Linked DNA regions of Homo sapiens: regions 2 and 3 are each linked to region 1. Evidence: promoter capture Hi-C in human tissues and cell types (Jung and others, 2019). All regions are on one chromosome and are shown on one strand. Each heading gives the region's core, a stretch centred on a gene start or on the middle of the fragment in contact. The rest is flanking DNA. Distances are from core to core; before and after follow the strand shown. Region 1 holds the start of DPAGT1 (dolichyl-phosphate N-acetylglucosaminephosphotransferase 1). Region 2 overlaps CBL (Cbl proto-oncogene). Region 3 overlaps USP2 (ubiquitin specific peptidase 2).

What was found. The method cuts DNA at HindIII sites, captures the fragments that hold promoters and counts their contacts. A contact is called where the count stands out against the background at its distance.
Region 2: a fragment that was not itself captured here is called in contact with the fragment with the promoter of DPAGT1 in region 1 in 2 of the 25 tissues and cell types used here (dorsolateral prefrontal cortex and mesenchymal stem cells).
Region 3: a fragment that was not itself captured here is called in contact with the fragment with the promoter of DPAGT1 in region 1 in 1 of the 25 tissues and cell types used here (dorsolateral prefrontal cortex).

The regions. Positions count from the first base shown.
Region 1 is chr11:119,100,603-119,103,574 of GRCh38, reverse strand. It overlaps DPAGT1 (dolichyl-phosphate N-acetylglucosaminephosphotransferase 1), which reads left to right and starts at 1,722. Exons shown (of 9, transcript NM_001382.4): 1 at 1,722-2,080; 2 at 2,437-2,557; 3 at 2,732-2,945. The coding sequence starts at 1,920. It also overlaps a transcript of C2CD2L not described here. RefSeq lists enhancers at 454-1,166, 1,378-1,687, 870-2,069, 1,881-2,594. The HindIII fragment of the contact is 6,056 bases long and covers 295-2,972 here.
Region 2 is chr11:119,252,022-119,254,765 of GRCh38, reverse strand. All of the region lies in intron 2 of CBL (Cbl proto-oncogene), which reads right to left. Among named protein-coding and RNA genes, the nearest start is that of CBL, 47 kb to the right of the region's middle. The HindIII fragment of the contact is 5,103 bases long and covers 1-2,744 here.
Region 3 is chr11:119,352,745-119,355,765 of GRCh38, reverse strand. It overlaps USP2 (ubiquitin specific peptidase 2), which reads left to right. Exons shown (of 13, transcript NM_004205.5): 13 at 1-551. Among named protein-coding and RNA genes, the nearest start is that of MFRP, 7.6 kb to the right of the region's middle. The HindIII fragment of the contact is 6,124 bases long and covers 1-3,021 here.

The DNA.
Region 1 (2,972 bases), core at 473-2,972:
CAGGCATGTGCCACCACACCCGGCTAATTTTTGTATTTTCAGTAGAGACGGGGTTTCACCGTGTTGGCCAGGCTGGTCTCGAACTCCTGACCTCAAGTGAGCCACCCACCTTCGCCTACCAAAGTGCTGGGATTACAGACGTTAGCCACTGCGCCCGGCCTCACATCTGATTTTGAGGGAAAGAAGAAACTATCTTCGGCTTAAAAACGGTCAACATGACCCTGACTCCTGGAACATGCCATAGAGGGAAGAGTGGACAAAGCGCTAGGCTATTGGAGTCCTTTCCCTAACTCACTGGTGGTGACTTCCTCTCTGACAAATGGAAATCATTTGCCGCCTAAGAGCCTGTCGGGGAATGAAAGGTAATAAAGATGCTGGTGAACTGGCTGGGCGTGGTGGCTCACGCCTGTACTCCCAGCATTTTGGGAGGCCAAGGCGGGCAGATCACCTGAGGTCGGGAGTCCCAAACCAGCCTGACCAACATAGGGAAATCCCGTCTCTACTAAAAATACAAAATTAGCCGGGCGTGGTGGCGCATGCCTGTAATTCCAGCTACTGCCTGTAATCCCAGCTACTCGGGAGGCTGAGGCAGGAGAATCTCTTGAACCTGGGAGGTGGAGGTTTCGGTGAGCCGAGATCGCGCCATTGCACTCCAGCCTGGGCAACAAGAGCGAAACTCTGTCTCAAAAAAAAAAAAAAAAAAAAAAAAAAAAAGCTGGTGAATTGTTGTTTGCAGGGGAACAGGCCAAGCAAAATGCACAGCAACCTGCAGGAGGCCAAGCAAAATGCACAGTGACCTACAGGAAGAAACCTGACTGGGAGTTCCTCAGACTCACAGGAAATCAGTTGTGGGTCTGATTCCTCTCCCTCCTCAGCTCTTTCCAGAGCCTCAGCCTGGAAATCTCCATCTCCTCCTTGTGGGAGCTAGGTACAATGCAGTGATCCACGGCCAAGCTGAAGTCTCGAGTTAAATCCAAGACCTGAGGGTACTCCCAATCCCTCAGTGAAGTGCTGCGCTGGGTTGCCGGGCAACTAACTGCTACAGCTGGGGCAGAAGGTGGGTGGGATGCTGAGAAAAAAATACCAGAATCGAGGACAAGAAAAACAGAGTGGGAGGGGCTTTTCAAGGATCTACGCTTTAGAATTTACACCATCCTTCCAAATCGTAGCTTTGTTTCCGGGAACTGAGTTGTGTTTACCTTGGCTTCCGACTATGTTGGCAACAGGTTTCCTGCAAGAAACAGGCGCGTCTCCACACCCTCGTCCCTCCTCCCCACCCCCTGCCTTTCAATAGCCATCTTCCTGGAGCCGGAGGCATCCCAGATTAAGGGAGAGGTACGGGCCCTTTAAGCTTGACCTATGGAGGCGGACGGAGCTAAAACTGACGTGGAACCGGAATGTGAGCGGTGTCAGACACGTGGTACAAGGAGGCATTCATCTTGGAACCGGGCAATTGGCATTTCCGCTCTGGGTAGTACATCTTTAACATAATGTTAGGGAAGTATCCGTTCTTGGCTGCCTTTCTTTAATTGCGTTTCCAGTACTCTCTCGGTGATTCTACTCTTGAACATAGGATGAAATTTGGAATCACACTTCTCTTCCACTTCCATCCCCACCCTCTAATGCCCATATTAAAAATGGCGGCCGCCGCCTTCCGCAGTAATGGTTGTTCAGCGAACAAGATCCGGGCGGAAACAGTAGATAGGCGGGTGCAGCGGGGCAGAACATAGGTTGCCTTAGAGAGGTTCCCCGGTGTCCCGACGGCGGCTCAAGTCAGAGTTGCTGGGTTTTGCTCAGATTGGTGTGGGAAGAGCCTGCCTGTGGGGAGCGGCCACTCCATACTGCTGAGGCCTCAGGACTGCTGCTCAGCTTGCCCGTTACCTGAAGAGGCGGCGGAGCCGGGCCCCTGACCGGTCACCATGTGGGCCTTCTCGGAATTGCCCATGCCGCTGCTGATCAATTTGATCGTCTCGCTGCTGGGATTTGTGGCCACAGTCACCCTCATCCCGGCCTTCCGGGGCCACTTCATTGCTGCGCGCCTCTGTGGTCAGGACCTCAACAAAACCAGCCGACAGCAGATGTGAGCAGCGGCACACGGGTCCGGGCAGGGGGCAAGGGCTAAGGAAGGAGTGGCTAGGGCAGGGGCGGGAACCGGGGTGCTTGACCACACGTGAAGACTCAGAACTAACCCAGGCAGCCTGGAACTCGGAGAGGTGATGAGCAGAACTTACTCGCATTGGGGAAAGGATGGGTAGGGACCCTTGGGTATATCTGGGACTCTGGCAGTGGTGCTTTCCTCCCTCCGCCCCCCTCACCACTTACCAGAATAAAAAACCGGGAATGAGAAGACCACTTTGGGTTACTGTAACACCTGCACTAGTGAGTGACCACGCCCCCTTTCCTCTTCCCCCTCGCCCCCTTGCTGCTGGGCCACAGCCCAGAATCCCAGGGAGTGATCAGCGGTGCTGTTTTCCTTATCATCCTCTTCTGCTTCATCCCTTTCCCCTTCCTGAACTGCTTTGTGAAGGAGCAGTGTAAGGCATTCCCCCACCATGAAGTAAGTGGGTTCGTGGGGGTGATTGCCTGTGGCTGGGACCTGGGAGGTACCTGAGAGAACTGGGGTTATTTGGGCTTGTGGGGAGGGGCTAAGAAATTATCAGAAAAGACAGGAATTCTTAAAAGGTGGAATGGGAGCAGGCTTGAGTCATGGACCTGCCCGAGCCTCCCCCAGTTTGTGGCCCTGATAGGTGCCCTCCTTGCCATCTGCTGCATGATCTTCCTGGGCTTTGCGGATGATGTACTGAATCTGCGCTGGCGCCATAAGCTGCTGCTACCTACAGCTGCCTCACTACCTCTCCTCATGGTCTATTTCACCAACTTTGGCAACACGACCATTGTGGTGCCCAAGCCCTTCCGCCCGATACTTGGCCTGCATCTGGACTTGGGTAGGTAGTCCTACCACTGCTGCCCCT
Region 2 (2,744 bases), core at 173-2,672, 150 kb before region 1:
GCTGGGCGTGGTGGTGCACACCTGTAATCCCAGCTACTCAGGAGTCTGAGGCAGGAGAATTGCTTGAACCTGGGAGGCGGAGGCTGCCGTGAGCCAAGATGGCACCACTGCATTCCAGCCTGGGCGACAGGACGAGACTCTGTCTCAAAAAAAAAAAAGATAAAAAAAGATTATAATACCACATTTTTACTGCACCTTTTCTATGTTTACATGTTAAAATACATACTTACCATTGTGTTACAACTGTCTACAGTACTCAGTACAGTAACATGCTGTACAGGTTGGTAGCCTATGAGCAATAAGCTCTACCGTATAGCCTAGGTGTGTGGGCGGCTGTATCATCTAGGTTTCTGTAAGTACACTCTATGACGTTCACACAACAACTAAATCAGGCAGCAATACATTTCTCAAAATGCATCCTGTCGTTAGCAATACATGGTTGCACTTACATAAAAGAAAATTTCAATGGACTTTAAATTGTGACATTTCTTTTTTAAATATTGTGGTAAAATATACTTACCAAAATTTACTATTTTAAGCATTTTTAAGTGTATAATTCAGTGAACATGACTTTTCTTTTTTATAGAGACGAGGTCTTGCTATTACACAGGCTAGTCTCAAACTCCTGGCCTCAAGTGATCCTCTTGCCTCGATCTCCAAAAGTGCTAGAATTACAGGTGTGAGGCACCAAGACCAGCTGACTTTTGATAACACTTTCCCCTTTCTATAATTTTTCATCAATCAGTGTATGTCCTTTTTTTTTTTTTTTTTTTTTTTGAGTCAAGGTCTCACTCTGTTGACTAGGTTGTACTCAAACTCCTGGCCTCAAGTGATCTCACCTCAGTCTCCAAAAGTGCTGGGATTACTTACAAACGTGAGCCAACAAGACTGGCTGATGATATTTTTGTTTTTGTTTTTGTTTTTGTTTTTAGATGGGGTCTCACTGTGTTGCCCAGGCTAGACTCCAGTGGCATGATCACAGCTCACTGCAGCCTAAACCTCCCACACTCAAGCATCTTCCCAAATCAGCCTCCAGAACAGCTTAGACCACAGGTATGCGCCACCACACCCAGATAATTTTATTATTATTATTATTATTAAGACAGAGTTTAACTCCTGTTGCCCAGGCTGGAGTGCAATGGTACGATCTTGGTTCACTGCAACTTCCACCTCCCAGGTTCAAGCAATTCTCCTGCCTCAGCCTCCCGAGTAGGTGAGATTACAGGTGTGAGCCACATCGTCCAGCCTGGGTGACTTTTATTAACACTTTCTCCTTTACATAATTTTTCATCAATGACTTTTTTTTTTTTTTTTTGAGATGAGGTCTTGCTATATTGAGCAGGCTGGATCGAACTCCTGGGCTCAAGTGATCCTCCCATCTCAGCCTCCTGAATAGCTGGGACTACAGGCATATGCCACGGTGCATGGCTCTAATTTTCTTTTAATCAAATACCATGTCCTGTTTTCTGTGAACCAGGCATTATTCTAAGTACTTTGTAACAATCTTATGAGAATACTTAAAAAAATTTTTTTTTCAAATGACAAATAATTGTCTATATTCATGGGGTACAATGTGATGTTTTGATAACGTTTATACTTTGAAATGATTAAACTATGAGAACACTTGAAATGAGAAATCTGAGTTTTTAAAAGCAACTTGTTTCCAGCTCCATGATATGTGCATGTAACCTTATTCTACACTGCCTTCATCTCACTGCTAAACACTTTGTATCTACTGACACGTAAGTGTGCCAACTGGTAAAATGACTAAGAAACTATGCTACCAACAATATGTTAATCATTTAGGATCTGCAAGGAAGATAATTTATAAAACCTCAACCTAGTGATTTTATTTTTTTTTAATCTTTTTTTTTTTTTTTTCTTGAGATGGAGTTTCACTTTTACTGCCCAGGCTAGAGTGTAATGGCATGACCTCGGCTGACTGCAACCTCCGCCTCTTGTGTTGAAGCAATTCTCCTGCCCTCAGCCCTCCCAAGTAGCTGAGATTACAGGCGCCTACCACCACGCCCAGCTAAGTTTTTTTGTTTGTTTGTTTGTTTGTTTGTATTTTTGGTAGAGATGGGGTTTCACCATGTTGGCCAGGCTGGTCTCGAACTCCTGACCTCAGGTGATCCACCCGCCTCGGCCTCCCAAAGTGCTGGGATTATAGGCGTGAGCCACCGCACCTGGCCTCAATCTAGTGATTTTAAGAGTATCTAATATTTAGTCATACATAGGCCTAAAAAGCCCTGCACAATGGTTGATGTCAATAGCACTTAGATTGCTATTTAACAGAAAGCACAATGGAAGATTTTCTTTCCCTAAGTGGCTTTTTAATCATACTCAATGAAGTAAAAGAACAGGAGGAAAGGAATCACTATTATCTGGTTCAACTTTAGAAAGAAAATATTCAACTGATTATTTTAAATGTAAATACCCTGAAAAAAATACCATAAATATAAGGAAACAAGTTAAGAAACACTAAATCTAAATACTTAACTTGGATTTCAACCACCTAGATATATTAGACACTAGACTGGATGAGTGTTCTGCATGTAAATGGAGTAGGGGGAGGGTTTATGGAAAGAGAGAAAAGAAAAATGTTAACAAAAGGTTTTTTTTTTTTTCCATTTCTGTAACAAATTTAACACACAGGATTTAAGCTTTCTGAAGAAAATGTATTATTAAATTCAAATCACAACAAATAAGAGTAAAAAAAACTAAGCTGCCAGGATTGAAGTTTA
Region 3 (3,021 bases), core at 26-2,525, 250 kb before region 1:
TAGCACAAGCCCCTCGTCCCTAGAGCTTCTCTCCCTTTTATTTATTCTCTTAACATCCCTTTCCCCCTGGCCTTCCTGCCCCCGCCCCCTTCTCAGAGCCTCCTAGACAATAGGCCCTTTGGACCGAGTTTCTCAGGGATGCCCAGGCCACCCCTCAGCTCTTCTTAGCGCTGGTCTCCAGTCCTGCCCTGGGAGCTGGAGCCTGGGTATTTGGGGACATCTTGCCTCAGTTGTATGGTTCTTTCCTGTGGGCTCAATTTTGCCCTACATAGTTGGATAAAACTCTGTGCTGTCCTGGAGAGTAAAGCTGTTCACCCACACAGCTGGGCCCGGCTTGTGCCCCGTGGAGCCTGGCACATTCCAGGCTCCTAGGAGGAGGCATCAGAGAAAGACACCCTGAGTTTTACTGGCCTGACACCCTTCTCCAGAGAAGACCTGTGAACCTGAGCCCAAGGGCAAGTGTACACTTGTTTACTGTGTAAGCAAGAGTAGAAGAATGTCTAATGTACAGTGGAACCTTGTACAGAATAAATAATAGCTTTGAGAAATCAGTTGGCAGATGTTGGAATCTTGATTTGGGAGTGTTTGAATCTAGGAAGGGCTCCTAGTATATTAGGGGCCATCTATTTCATTGTTTCAACCAGTTTGTAAATTCCAAGTTTCTGGAAAAAGTTACCCACTTTTTAGTTTGAACATTTAAGTTTAATTTTTTAAAAACTGAAACAATACATATTTTGGACACTATATTCTTCATCTGGATTCACCAATTGTTTACAAACACATTTAAATATACAGCCATCCCCCAGTATACACAGGGAGATTGGTTCCAAGATACACACATACCAAAATCTGCACCATATTCAAGTCCCAAGGTCACCCCTGCAGAACCTGCGTATATGAAAATCAGCCTTCTATATATGTGGGTTTTGCATCTTACAAATGCAGTATTTTCTATCCTTATTTGGTTGAAAAAATCCACGTGAAAGTGGACCCACACAGTTCAAGCCCGCATTGTTCAAAGGTCAACTGTACTTTATTCTGTCTGCCGAAACATTTTCAGGTGAGGTGTTATATCACCACTTCTAAATACTTGAGCATACATCTCCTAAGAATCAGGACATTCTCCTATGTGACATGGTTTTCACATGTCCATTTTTTTTTTTAATGAACTGTCTACTTTTTAATGCTGGTATGGGCTACTCTCTTAATTCTTGGTTGAAACTCTTGGGGCTGGGCATGGTGGCTCACACCAGTAATTCAAGAAGTTGAAGTGAGAGGATGGCTTAAGGCCAGGAGTTTGAGACCAGCCTGGGCAACATAGTGAGACCCTGTCTCTATGAAAAAAGAAACACTTGGGTGTTTTCACAGACCTATGATAAGATAAAATACATCTCTCCAGCAGATGTCAAATATAGCAAAACTTGCTCTTAGAGCAGAGTATCATTACCTGGATGTGGAGTGACCAGGGCTTAGTCTTTTTTTTTTTTTTTTTTTTTTTTTGAGACAGAGTTTCACTCTTGTTGCCCAGGCTGGAGCGCAATGGCATGATCTCAGCTCACTGCAACCTCCATCTCCTGGGTTCAAGCGATTCTCCTGCCTCAGCCTCCCAGTAGCTGGGATTACAGGCATACGCCACCACGACCAGCTATTTTTCTATTTTTAGTAGAGACGGGGGTGTCTCCATGTTGGTCAGGCTGGTCTCGAACTCCTGACCTCAGGTGATCTGCCTGACTCGGCCTCCCAAAGTGCTGAGATTACAGGCGTGAGCCACCACGCCCAGCCAGGGCTTAGTCTTTGATAAGTCAAAGATCTCAGCTTTACCACCTAATACTTAGAAACAGTTACCTTTATGTTACAGGCTTTGTTCCCTAAAGTGCTTTTTCTCAAGACTTCAGATTTAACCCCTAAAAGAGGTGATGCCTTTGGTGCACTCGGTGACCCACGTCTCCTTTGGTGTCACCTCTTCATTAGCACTGTTCAGCTTTTCCATTTCTGCTGCTGGTCTTAGAACTAGGGAAGCTGAAGGCTCCACCAGGTGAGCCTGGAGTGTTTCATCAGGATTCTTCCTCACTGCCTTCACTGCTCCAGACACTGAAAAATAAAGGCCTGACTATTCCATCCTTGCTGAGACAGAAGCACCTGCTGTCACTTAAGGCCTGTGTGCTGCTATCAAACCCACCTCATGGAGGGGGACAGTTGTGGGGGCATTTTTCTAAGCATTTCCCAAGAGTGAAGAAGAGGGATTGAAAATGACAGTGACTTAAAACTTGGAATTTCTCCCTGAGGGACCCAAACTTCCCTGGCCTGCCCTGAGGGTGGCCTGACCCAGGCTGTGATTGGAAATCTTACCCTGATGATTGCCCCCAAGCCGCAGGCAAACAGGATCCCCTCAAAATAAAAACATGAGGCTTGTAGCAAAGTGAATGGCTGTACTCTGACTAGTTCTTCACTGGAGGTAGAAGCAGCCCTGTAATTTTTGCTGTCTTCCACTGGGGAACAGATGGACTCTAGGAGACATTGAGGGCAGGGGCTCCACTCAGGTCCGCCACCCTTGCTCCCAGCTCTTCAGTAATTAATCTGTGGTGCTTTCTCATCCCCATGGCAACAGGTCCTAGTGTTACACAGAGCACAAACACACGCAGGTCTGTCCCCACGTTTTTTTGTCCATCAAGCTTTGCCTCCTAGCAACTTGGCTCTCTTCCCTCATTGTTTGCTCTTGATCCAGCAGGCCTCTCCCTAGGGGAGGGGCTTCCCCTGCAACTGCTCTTGTGTGACCTTGAACAAGAACCTCCCTCTTTCTGGGCCTCCGTGCCTCATCTGCAAATTACTGAGATAGGACTTGTGGATCTTGAAGGTCTCCACTCCCATGTTATCAATCATTCTAAGTCACTTTTCCTCTAAACACATGCTCAAGTCCCAAGATACGGAACTTAACTCTAGTTCCCTGGTTCCAGTTTATAGAATTTTTTTAAGTGACCAATGCTCAGAATGCTTACTTCTTTCTATAAAGCTATATTTTAT